2 separate regions of the Homo sapiens genome follow, and region 1 is linked to region 2. The links are contacts of gene promoters, found by promoter capture Hi-C in blood cells and fetal thymus (Javierre and others, 2016). All regions are on one chromosome and are shown on one strand. Each heading gives the region's core, a stretch centred on a gene start or on the middle of the fragment in contact. The rest is flanking DNA. Distances are from core to core; before and after follow the strand shown.

The links. Contacts are between HindIII fragments. The CHiCAGO score rates a contact against its expected background, and 5 or more counts as called.
Region 1: a fragment that was not itself captured here is called in contact with the fragment with the promoter of TMEM200B in region 2 in 2 of 17 cell types (activated CD4 T cells and neutrophils); the score reaches 5.6 in activated CD4 T cells.

The regions. Positions count from the first base shown.
Region 1 is chr1:28,750,871-28,756,779 of GRCh38, forward strand. All of the region lies in intron 4 of YTHDF2 (YTH N6-methyladenosine RNA binding protein F2), which reads left to right. Among named protein-coding and RNA genes, the nearest start is that of YTHDF2, 17 kb to the left of the region's middle. RefSeq lists an enhancer at 3,641-4,140. The HindIII fragment of the contact is 2,247 bases long and covers 1,095-3,341 here.
Region 2 is chr1:29,121,743-29,127,480 of GRCh38, forward strand. TMEM200B (transmembrane protein 200B) reads right to left here and starts at 2,161. Exons shown (of 2, transcript NM_001003682.4): 1 at 2,114-2,161; 2 at 1-106. The coding sequence starts at 86. RefSeq lists enhancers at 1,575-2,434, 2,435-3,294, 3,295-4,154. The HindIII fragment of the contact is 10,456 bases long and covers 1-5,483 here.

The DNA of each region.
Region 1 (5,909 bases), core at 968-3,467, 370 kb before region 2:
TCACTTGAGCCTAGGAGTTCAAGACCATCCTGGGCAACATGGTGAAACCCTGTCTCTACAACAAATAAAAAAATTAGCCAGGCGTGGTGGCTCGTGCCTGTAATACCAGCTAGTTAGGAGGCTGAGGTATAAGAATCGCTTGAACTTGGGAGATGGAGGTTGCTGTGAGCTGAGATTGTGCCACTGCATTCCAGCCTTTGTGACAGAGCGAGACTGTCTCAAAAAAAAAAAAAAAAAAAAGGCTGGGCGTGGTGGTGCACGCTAGTAATCCCAGCTACTCAGGAGGCTGAGGCAGGAGAATCTCTTGAACCCAGGAGGTGGAGGTTGCAGTGAGCAGAGATTTTACCACTGCACTCCAGCCTGGGTGACAGAGCGAGACTGTCTCAAAAAAAATTCAAGTTTCTGTGATATAAAAGAGGAAAACATCCTCACTTGAGCTAAATATATTAAATCCTTAGGAAGTAAATAACCATGTGATACTGTTGGCTCCCATTTAGTATCTTACCACCCCACCACTGTTTTATTGACTCTTCAGATCTAGTGAGTGGGCATCCTGTTTTAAACCAGGATGACAAACATGAGCATTTTTTGTAAAATCCTAAGGCCATCTATGTCTATTTTTGTCTTGCAGATAAATATACTTGTTTATCTGCCAAAAGGGTTAAGGAAATTTTATTTGTATTACTCATCACCTTCCTTGCTTTGTGAATAGATAAAACGCCTCTTTCTGCAGCCTCCTTAAAGGAGGACTAGAAGAGAATAGATAACATTGAATTTGTATCTCTGAACCATGCCCCTTGTATCTATCTTTCAACAAACGTTTGTGTTAATTGCTGGGATGGAACAGAGAAACAAGGCACCATCTTTGCCTTAGAAGCAGAGGGTTTTAGGAGGACAGCAAAATGGATAAAATATGGGATAAGAGCTGTAATAGAGGAATGAATACATTTTTGGCATTCTGGAGAAGTGATTAATTACTTGGGGGAAATTAAGAATTCATGGAGGCAATAACATTGGAACCCTGCCAAATAAGTAATAATAGAATGATAAGCACTCAAATGGCAGCACAGTGCTTGGCACATAGTACACACAGAAGCTTAGCTATCTTATCTAACACTGTAATTCTCATATTTCAGATAAAGGAAGAGGCTCAGAGGTTATTTATCCAAAGTCTCATAGCTAGTAAGTGTTGGAGTTGGTCTTTAACAGAAGTCTCTCCAGCGATGTGTTGGAGCTGGCTAGTTGGAGCCAGCTGTTTAGCTTTCAAGAATACCTTTCTGTACATTAAATTACATTATAATTACCATCGTATTAGGTAATATTCAAATTCCTTACTCTTGAGGTTATTTACAGCTGTTGTATCAATATATAATATGCTGTTGCACACTGATAACACATTGGTAATCTGAAATCAGCTGTGGTGTTTTTGTTGTTGTTGTTGTTTTTGAGACGGAGTCTCACTTGTTGCCCAGGCTGGAGTGCAGTGCAGTGGCATGATCTCAACTCACTGTGTCCTCCACCTCCCGGGTTCAGGGCTGCCTCAGCCTCCCAAGTAGCTGGGACTACAGGTGCTTGCCACCACTCCCGGCTAATTTTTGTATTTTTAGTAGAAGCGAGGTTTCACCATATTGGTCAGGCTGGTCTCGAACCCCTGACCTTGTGATCTGCCTGCCTCGGCCTCCCAAAGTGCTGGGATTACAGGTGTGAGCCACCATGCCTGGCCCAGCTGTTAGTTACATCGTGGAAATTGACAAATGCTGTATATAAATCAATGTTTAATTTTTGCTGATTGTCTAGACTTCATAGTGATGGAGAAAATATTGATTGCAGATTAAATTTGTGTGTCACGACTGTAGCTCTTAAACATTTTTTTTCAATAACACAAAAATTTGTCCTGCACAGTGGCTCACACCTGTAATCCCAACACTTTGGGAGGCTGAGGTGGGAGGATTGCCTGAGCTCAGGAGTTTGAGACCAGCCTGGGCAGCATAGCGAGACCTTGTCTCTACAAAAAATTTAAAAAAAATTAACCAGACTTGGTGGCGCATAACTAAAGTATAGCTACTCAGGAGGCTGAGGCAGGAGGATTGCTTGAGTCCAGGAAATGAAAGCTGCAATGAGCTGTGATCATGCCACTGCACCCCAGCCTGGGTGACAGCAGGAGACTGTCCCTAGAAAAAAAAATTTTTTTGAGGAAATATTCTAATATTTGAAAAACTATTACCCAGTTTAGCAAAGAAGTTGCTCAAAACATGTTTCATGTTTGTATATTGGAACTTACACCTGGAGAGCCACTGAGTCTCTAACCCCGAAGCTCATGGACTACTCCATGATCTATGAAGTTTGCCAGATAGAAAAGTAGAGAAATGGCTAGGTGCAGTGGCTCATGCCCGTAATCCTCGCACTTTGGGGAGGCTGCAGCAAGAGAATCACTTGAACCCAGGAGTTTGAGACCAGCCTAGGCAACATAATGAAATCCTGCCTCTCCAAAAAAAAAAAAAAAAAAAAAAAAAAAAAAAAAAAAAAAATCAGCCAGGTGTGATGAGGCACACCTGTAGTCCTAGTTGCTCAGGAGGCTGAGACAGGAGGATTGCTTGAGCCCGGGACGTCAAGTCTGCAGTGAGTCATGATGGTACCACTGTACTCCAGTCTGGGCACAGTGAGACCCTGTCTTCCAAAAAATGGCATTCTAGTAAGAGCATGTTAAAAACATAGTCTTGAGAATGCTTATGGTATGTTTTCAGAATGAGAAGTTTAATGTGGTCTAGAATGGTAAGTGATAACGCTGGAGAGATTGGTTGGGCAAGTATATGAAGAGTTTCAGGATTTTATTCTTTTTTTTTTTTTTTTTCTGAGACAAAAATCTCGCTTTGTCCCCCAGGCTGGAGTGCAATGGCGCGATCTTGGCTCGCTGCAGCCTCCCCCTCCCAGGTTCAAGCGATTCTCCTGCCTCAGCCTCCCGAGTAGCTGGGATTACAGGTGCCTGTCACCACGCCCAGCTAATTTTTGTATTTTTAGTGGTGACAGGGTTTCATCATGTTGGCTAGGCTGGTCTCAAACTCCTGACCTCAGGTGATCTGCCTGCCTTGGCCTCCCAAAGTGCTGGGATCACAGGTGTGAGCCACTGCGCTCGGCCTAGGATTTTATTCTTTACCTGTGTTTTAGTTTGGTTGTAAGGGAGGGTAGTTAATTAGGGAATAACAGTTTGGAGGATGGGAAGGATGAAACACTTACTGAGCATTGACCTTGTTAAGCACCATGCTAGGTACTTTCATAGCCTTACTTTAATCCCCATACCAACCTGGGAGGCAGTATCCTGTATTTATAGATCAACAAATGGAAGCTTAGGAAAGCAACTTATCAAAACATCTATGAGGCTGGGTGAGTTGGCTCACGCCTCTAATTCCAGCACTTTGGGAGGCCAAGGTTGGCAGGTCATTTGAGGCCATGAGTTTGATACCAGCCTGGCCAACATGGCGAAACACTGTCTCTACTAAAAATACAAAAAAATTAGCCGGGCGTGGTGACGGGCGCCTGTAGTCCCAGCTACTCAGGAGGCTGAGGCAGGAGAATGGTGTGAACACTGGAGGCGGAGTTTGCAGTGAGCTGAGATAGCGCTACTGCACTCCAGCCTGGGCGAAAGAGCGAGACTGTGTCTCAAAAAAAAAATTGGCCGGGCGCGGTGGCTCATGCCTGTAATCCCAGCACTTTGGGAGGCTGAGGTGGGTAGTTCGCAAGGTCAGGAGTTCAAGACCAGCCTGGCAACATGGTGAAACCCCATCTCTACTAAAAAATTAGCTGGGCGTGGTGGTGGGTGCCTGTATTCAGGGGGCTGGGGCAGGAGAATCACTTGAAACCAGAAGGCGGCAGTTGCAGTGAGCCGAGATTGCTCCACTGCACTCCAGCCTGGGCAATGAGAGCAAAACTTCGTCTCAAACAAACAAAAAAATTAGCCAAGAGTGGTGGTGTGTGCCTATAGTCCTATAGTCCCAGCTACTCAGGGAGCTGAGGGATGAGAATCACTTGAACCTGGGAGGCAGAGGTTACAGTGAGCCGAGATCGCAACACTGCATTCCAGCCTGGGTGACAGCTCAAAAAAAAAAAAAAAAAAAAAGGGGTGGGAGATGGCTCAGAGACTAAACGAGATGCTTTTACAGTATTCTGGGGAAAAAAAGATGATGAGGGCCTGAACCAGGACAGTGGGAACGGGAAACTGGATATGAAGAATGTGGTAGACATATTTGTTGACTAGTTTTTCAAAAATTAAAGATGATGAGAGGAGCAGCAGTTTAGGGTTAGGATTTGGGGTTGTATTGGCTTTTGGAAATAGTTTCAGGTGCCTGTGATAGTAGCAGCAGCCAGGTGATAGTAGGCAGCTGGGAATCTGGAGCTCAGATTGTTGACAGGAATTTGAATTTTCAACCCTCAGGATAGGTAAAGGCATGGAAGAGTTTGACTTTTCAAAGATTCTTGTAATAAGAATGGCTAACAGTTATTGAATGCTCTGTACAGTGTCTAGCATACAGTTGTCTTGAATATATATTTAAATGTATGTTCATTTAATTCTTGTATCCTTGTGAGGTAGGTATAAGTAGCTCAGTTTTACTGATGAAAACATTAAAACACAGAAAAGAGTAAATAACTTTGCAAAGGCACATGAGATACGAAAGTAAAGCTGGTGTTCTAATTCTGCAGCGTGGTTCTAGAGCCAACACGAGTGAGAGAAAAGGACTATGGAAAAAGTTCCCCAGAAATAACAAAATTTGAAGAATAAAGAGGGAGCAAGTGAAAGAGATTGAGAGAGAATAGTTTGAGTTTCAGAAAGAGAACAAGGAAGGGGCTATTCAGGTTGAGTATTCCTAATTTGAAAATCTGAAATGCCCCAAAGTCTGAAACTGAGTGCACACATGACACTGAAGAAAATGTTCATTGGAGCATTTCCTATTTTGGATTTTCAGATTAGGGTTGCTCAACCAGTATGTATCTACAAATATTCAAAAAATCTGAAATCCAAAACATTTCTTACCCCAAGAATTTCAGATAGGGGATACACAGCCTGTATGGAACTTCAAGCAGTATGGTAGAGTACACTTAACTCAGAGGCTGCAGAGAGGTAACAGATGACTGCAGATGCCAGTGATGTCTGTTGAATAAAAAGTTGCTTTGCTATTAGAGACTTGAAAGTTTTGATCTCCGTACTTCATTCAAAAGACTCTGCATGTTTCTTTATCTTTGTGTTTGCAGAGTCGGTATCTTTCAACCTCTGTTCCAAGCCTTAAAGAGCTATTATAAAGCTCTTTTGTTTGCCTAGTATGGGCTGTTTTGGTGAAATAGACTATGTAAAAATGTCTGAAATACAGAGTTGAATATGAAGAATGGCAGCATTTTGATTTTGATGTGGCTAAAGATTGATCCAGGGAGGACTGCTATTTTTCCATGCTTAAACATTTGTGGGACAAGGGCTAGTTGGCAATGCTAGAATCGTTTAGTATATCTTGAATAGTTTAAACCAAGAATCACTCAAGTATGAGCCATTCTGCTTACCTACCAGAAGTAAAGATTACTCCTCTAACAGTTTTTAGCATTGGAATTCTTTTTTTCCCTGCAAACAAAACTTTTCTTGGAACCTCATGAATGATTTTTACATGTTCAGCTTCCCTTCTCCCAGAAGATACCTGAAGCATCTCTCCTATGAAGCATAATTTGAAACACACTAGATGACAGTGAATTTTTAAAAATGGGAATGATGCATGGAAGATGAGGTAGAGGGATCTGTTTTGATATGGGAGAAGTATGAGGATTCAGCAAGTTCAGCATCTCTTCTAAAGGTGTTGGGTGATTTAGTCTGGGCGCAGGTTTGGAGGGATGAGGAAGAGTTACCCAGGAGGGAGATAGGGAAGGCTTACAGC
Region 2 (5,738 bases), core at 911-3,410:
CGGCCCAGGCGGCGGCCCAAGCGAGAGACGCGGCCCTCGGGGCTCCTCCGCACCTCCCCGCATTCTTCGGGGCTCCCGGCCGTCATCTCGCCGTCGTCTGGGCGCTCTGCGGAGAGAAGATGGGAGGCAAGGACTGGACCGACGGGCCTCTAGCTTCAGGGCGCCAGGTTCGGGGCGCAAATCCGGGAGGGAAGCTCCGGCCGCCCAGCCCAGGCCGCTTGGAGATCCCTGGCGGCCACCCCCGGATTTTCCCGGGCGGCGAGGCGGGGAGCCGCCCGCGCTCGGGTTTTCCGCAGCGGAGCTCCGAGCCAGGCACGCGCGGCAGAAGCCGGAGTTGGCCCGGCCAGCGGGCGGAGAGGAGGGAGGGGGGCGCAGGCTGTTCCCTGGCGCATCCCGGGCTGCAAATCTGCCGCCTGCGTCCGGTCCGCAAGCCCGCGGGTCTTGGGCCTCGGGAAACGTGCGGCCCCCAGCTGCCGCGTCTCCAGGGTAAGTACCTCCCGGGCTCGACCCCACCCCCGCACGTGGCTGCACCGTAGCAAATGGGGCGGGGGCGCTCGGGCCTCCCAGGTCCGCAGGGGTCGCTCGCCGGGCCCCACCTCCCCCCTACTGTGCTTTACATACCGCAGCGCGGGAGGAGGGGGCGTCACCGGCTCCAGCCTCTCCCTGCCCGCCCCCTCCTTCCAGACCTCCTCCGCCCGCAGCGAAGCTGCAGCAGGAGCGACTTGAGCTAGACACCGGGAAGACCGCTCGGATCAAGACCAGCCAGGCAGAGGAGGAGAGGCGGCGCCGACTTCGCCCAAGATTTCCATCAAGTCCACGCATGAGAGGCCTCTCCCTCCCCCAGCGGTCGTGCTGGGGCCACGGCAGCAGGCGGGGGTGCCGGTGCCGGGCGCTGGGCCCCGCCGGACGGATGCCCTCCCGGCTCCCCCGTCGGCCCGGGCAAGGCTGTTCCCAGGTTGCGACGTTTCCAATTCGGGCTCCTCCGGATGAATCATCCCCCTTTCCCGCCGCCTGGCCTCCTTTCCCGCCTCCTCCGCCCGAGGCCTCCGTGGCCCGTGGCCCGGTCAGAGCAGCACCGCCCCTGCGCCTCGGGATCCGGGCCGCACAGCTTAAGCCCTCCCGATTGCTGGCCGCGCCCTGCCTGCGGCCTGTGGCCTGGATCCCGGGCCCAGCAGGAGTAGCCGAGCTGCGTGCGGTGTGGCCCCCACGAAAGGGAGGGCGAGGGAGAAGACGCGGCCCCCGCCCAGGCGCCCCAGGCCGCAGGAGAGGAGGCTCAGGGCCTAGCTGTCCAGGGTCGTCCTCACTGCTCGCGTCCGCTTCCTAAAGAACCACCGCGCTGGAGCCCGCAGCCGAAACCTCGGGGAGGCGGCCTTGCTCCCCGACCCACGCCCCATCTGCACCCCAAACCTCAAAGCAGGACACCCATCCCTGCCTCCGACTGGAGCGCTCAAGGCCCGGGCCTAGCAGGGAGCCGCCACTCTCCCGCGTCCAAAGCCTGGTTTCACAGATTGCAACTACGGCCCAGGGAGGCCGGGGAGACTGCCCGACCCCGCACTAGGCGGGGGCTCTGCCAGGTCCGACGCCGGGCTCCGGGGCCCCAGCCCTAGACCCCTCTCAGGACAGCCACGGGAGTATCCAGGAGGAAGCGAGGCCCATCCCCTCCTTGTCCCTGAGTTTGCAGCCCTTTCCCCAGCCCGCAACCGGAGGAGCGATCATCGCTTCAAGCCAGAACTGGCGCTCTCAGCCCCGGCTCCAGCAAGGTCACCCGGAGCCCCGCGCGTCGCTGCCGCGAGGGAAGCGAAAACAAGCAGAGTGGGGACATGGGGACACGCTCAGAGACCCCGAGCCGTGGAGGTAGTGGGCCGACGCTGGGGACACCAGGGAGGCGGAAACTTGGGGACACAGCGCACAGCCCGACAGAAGATGCTGGGGCCGAGTCCCCAGGACTCCAGGGTCCCGCCACCGCCCGCGTCCACACTCCCGCCTGGGGGAACGGGAGGGCCGCGCTCCCGCCCCCAGGGGCCCTGACCGAGGGAGGGAGGGAGGGAGGGAGGGACCAAACGAAAAGTTGGGAAAAGTGGAGTGCGGACCCCTGGACCCCAGCTCGGCTCACCTGGCGCCGCAGCGCCGCGCGGGTCCGGGTCCCAGTCCGCGCGCGGAGGCTCCAGAGCCGCCCGGGTCTCCACGGCCCGGCCCCAGCCCCGCCCCGGCCCCGCCTCCAGCCCCCGGGACCGTCCGACCCGCGCCGGGCCCGGCCCCACCGCCGCTGAAAGGCGGCAGCTCAGGTCAAAGGATCGCAGGTAGGCGCCCTGTGCGCGCCTGGTGACTCCGGGCACCCGTGGCCCGAGTTCTGCCATCCCCACTCTCCCACCCCCAGCTTACATCGGTCGCAAAGGCCCACAAAGGCGACCCCTTCCTACATGGGGAAACTGAGACCCGGGACCCAGGAGCCCCGACACCCGCACGTCCTTCCCCGCTTCCCAGAGCCCCTCATCCCAGGCGCCCGGGGAGCTTCCAGGAGGAGGCGGCCCGAGTCCCTGCTCTGCCCCGGTCCCGCAGCCCTTGCTGTCGCTGAACCTCGCGGACTTCATCTGTGCAATGGGCACCAAGGCTTCAGCCTCGCAAGATGCCGAGAGGCAAGAGCCAGACGCCAAGGGCCAGCCCGGGGCGACTCCGCAAAGCCCTCAGCGAAAGCAGCGCCCGGGGAGGGGCGGGCCTTGTAGCTGAAAGGACCGGACGGGGTGCGGATGTGCCGCCGGGTACTCCTAAGAACAGGCGCCCCTTCGCCAGTGGGGGAGCGGGCTTGTTCCCAATAACGGGGAGGGTGCTGAGAGCTGCGACCCCGCCGGCGAGCCCGAAGGGGGCGGCCCGGCCTTCGCGCCCTCCCGCCCCTGGAGGCAGGAATGCAGAGCGGGGGAGCCAGGGCGGCCGGCGGTCGGCCCAGTTTCCATGATGCGGGGGGCGGGTTCGGGGGAGGCGGCGACCGATTTCCAGGCTCAGCGGTCAGGCCGGGCCCCCCGGGAGGAATTTCCGGCCTAGGATTGATTAAGGCCCGCCCCTCCCCCCGGCCGTGGAGACCCCCGGCGCGCAGCCGGGGGGAGGGGCGCTAATGAGACCCGGCTGCGCGCCGCGGACAGGGAGGGGACCCGAGGAAGGGGCGGGCCAGGGGCCGGGGCCACCCCCCGACGCGGGGCGGAGCCGGGTCCCGGAGCCGCACGGCCAGGCCAGGCCTTGAACCTGAGCTCCCACCCTCTGGGTCGGCGGAGGAGAGTGGGGGTGCATCAGTGCCCCCCGGGACCCCCTCTTCCAGCTCTTAAAAGCCCCCTCGGGGGGTCGGTGAGGTAACGGGCGGACCAGAGGGACCACAGTGGGGAAGACCGAGCCTCGGCTCCCGGGCTTCATCCCTGCGAGGCCGTGTGCGAGATCGAAGCCAGGGCCTCCTTCTTGCCTCCCCAGTCCGACTGGAGGCTCCTGAGGTCTCGGTCCGCTCCACGGAGGCCTCCCTCCAGCATCTTTGCTTGGGACCCCCGCCCCCATCAATCCTCCGCTTCGTCCACTCCCCGCACACTGACCCCACCGCGGTCGCACCTCCGCCTCCCAGCTCTCCCTCCCACCCCTGGGCTCCCTCAATCCCACTCCATGCCTGCCTCTCCCAGCCCACTGCTCTTCCTCCAATAAGCCCGGCTTCTAGTCTGACTCCCTGGGCCCCTCGATCATCCCCTGCCTCCAGCTCTGTGAAGGGCCCTTTGTCCACCCAAGCACGGGGTCAGCCTTGGCCCCTTCCTCTCCCCCTCTCATCCCACTCACAGAGCCTTGGGGGCCCTGCTCTTTTCATCTGGGGCCAGCCACGTTCTCCCTTTCCCATGGCCACTGTCCTGCTCCGGCGTCCAGGCTCCTCCTGGAGCCCATGGTCTCCTGCCTCCCCGTGTCCTAGTGCGCTGCAGACAGGCAGCAAGGGTTTCCACTCTGAATCTGAGCCTGCCACTACCTGCTTAAAACCATCAGTGACTCCCCAAATCGAGTTGGAAATCTCTTCTTGTCTCCACGAACTGGCCCCGGGCCTCTTACACTCCCTCAGGGCTTGGTTGGTCCTTGCTTTCCGGCAGGAACACTTACCCCCTGGTCGTGCCCTTGCCACCTTCTACACATCCTTCAGACCCTGGGCCTTCCCCCAGCCCCCAGACCAGGTCAGTACCCGCTCTCCTGCTCTGTTGTACACCCTCACAACACCAGCAGCTTCCCTGTGCACCTGCAAACTGAACCCACTGGGAGTGGAGTCTGTTTCCTGTCTGTGTCCCCACTGGCCATGACTCTGAGGGGGCAGGACTAGGTCTGTCTTGCTCATCCCTGGAGCCCTGTGCCCAGCACAGTGTCTGCCCACAGCTGGCCATCCCCATTAGAGGAGGGTGTGCAGGCCTGTGTCTCCTTCAGCCCGAATACCTTCCTGATCTCCATGCCAGGTGCCCTGGCCCAGACAGCAGGAGAAAGAAAGGACTCCTCTCTGTCTCAGGCTCCTCATTTGTAAAAAGGGAGAAATAATACCTACCCCACAGTGTTGTTTTGAAGGTTAAATAACAGTTCACCTGTGGCCGGGTGCGGTGGCTCACACTTGTAATCCCAGCACTTTGAGAGGCTGAGGAGGGAGGATCACTGGAGCCTAGGCGTTCAAGACCAGCCTGGGCAACATAGCAAGACCCTGTCTCTACAAAAAAATTTAAAAATTAGCCAGGTACTGTGGCGCATGCCTATAGTCCCAGCTACTCGGGCGACTGAGGCAGGAGGATCTCTTGACCCCAGGAGTTTGAGGCTATAGTGAACCATGATTGCAAAGCCTGGGTGACAGAGTGAGATCCTGTTTCAAAATTTTTTTAAAGAAGCTGGGCCTGGTGGCTCATGCCTGTAATCCCAGCACTTTGGGAGGCCGAGATGGGAGGATGACTTGAGGTCAGGAGTTCGAGACCAGCCTGGCCAAATGGTAAAACCTCATCTCTACTAAAAATACAAAAATTAGCCGGGTGCGGTGGCTCACACCTGTAATCCCAATACTTTGGGAGGCTGAGGTGGGCGGATCATGAGGTCAGGAGATCGAGACCATCCTGGCTAACACGGTAAAACCCCGTCTCTACTAAAAAATACAAAAAATTAGCCGGGTACAGTGGTGGGCGCCTGTAGTCTCAGCTATTCGGGAGGCTGAGGCAGGAGAATGGCGTGAACCTGGGAGGCGGAGCTTGCAGTGAGCTGAGATCGTGCCACTGCACTCCAGCCTGGGCGACAGAGCGAGACTGTGTCTCAAAAAAAAAAAAAAAAAAAAAAAATTAGCTGGGCGCGGTGGTGGGTTCCTGTAATTCCAGCTACTCAGGAGGCTGAGGTGGGAGAATCACTTGAACCCAGGAGGTGGAGGTTGCAGTTAGCCAAGATGGTACCACTGCACTCCAGCCTGGGTGACAGAGCGGACTCTGTCTAAAAAGGAAAAAAAAAAAAAAAGCTTGTATAATAGAAAGATGACCAAATAAGGAAACAAATGAGTTCTTCAAAGGAGACTTAGTGTCCAGGAAAGGATTCTATGGACCCTGAGAGGATTTAGAGAAGAGGTATATAGGCTTGAACCCAGGAGGCGGAGGTTGCAGTGAGCCGAGATGGCACCACTGCACTCCAGCCTGGGTGACAAAGTGAGACTCGGTCTCAAAAAAAAAAAAAAAATTTAAGAAAGGGTTCACATGTTGAGTGCCTGGCACAAA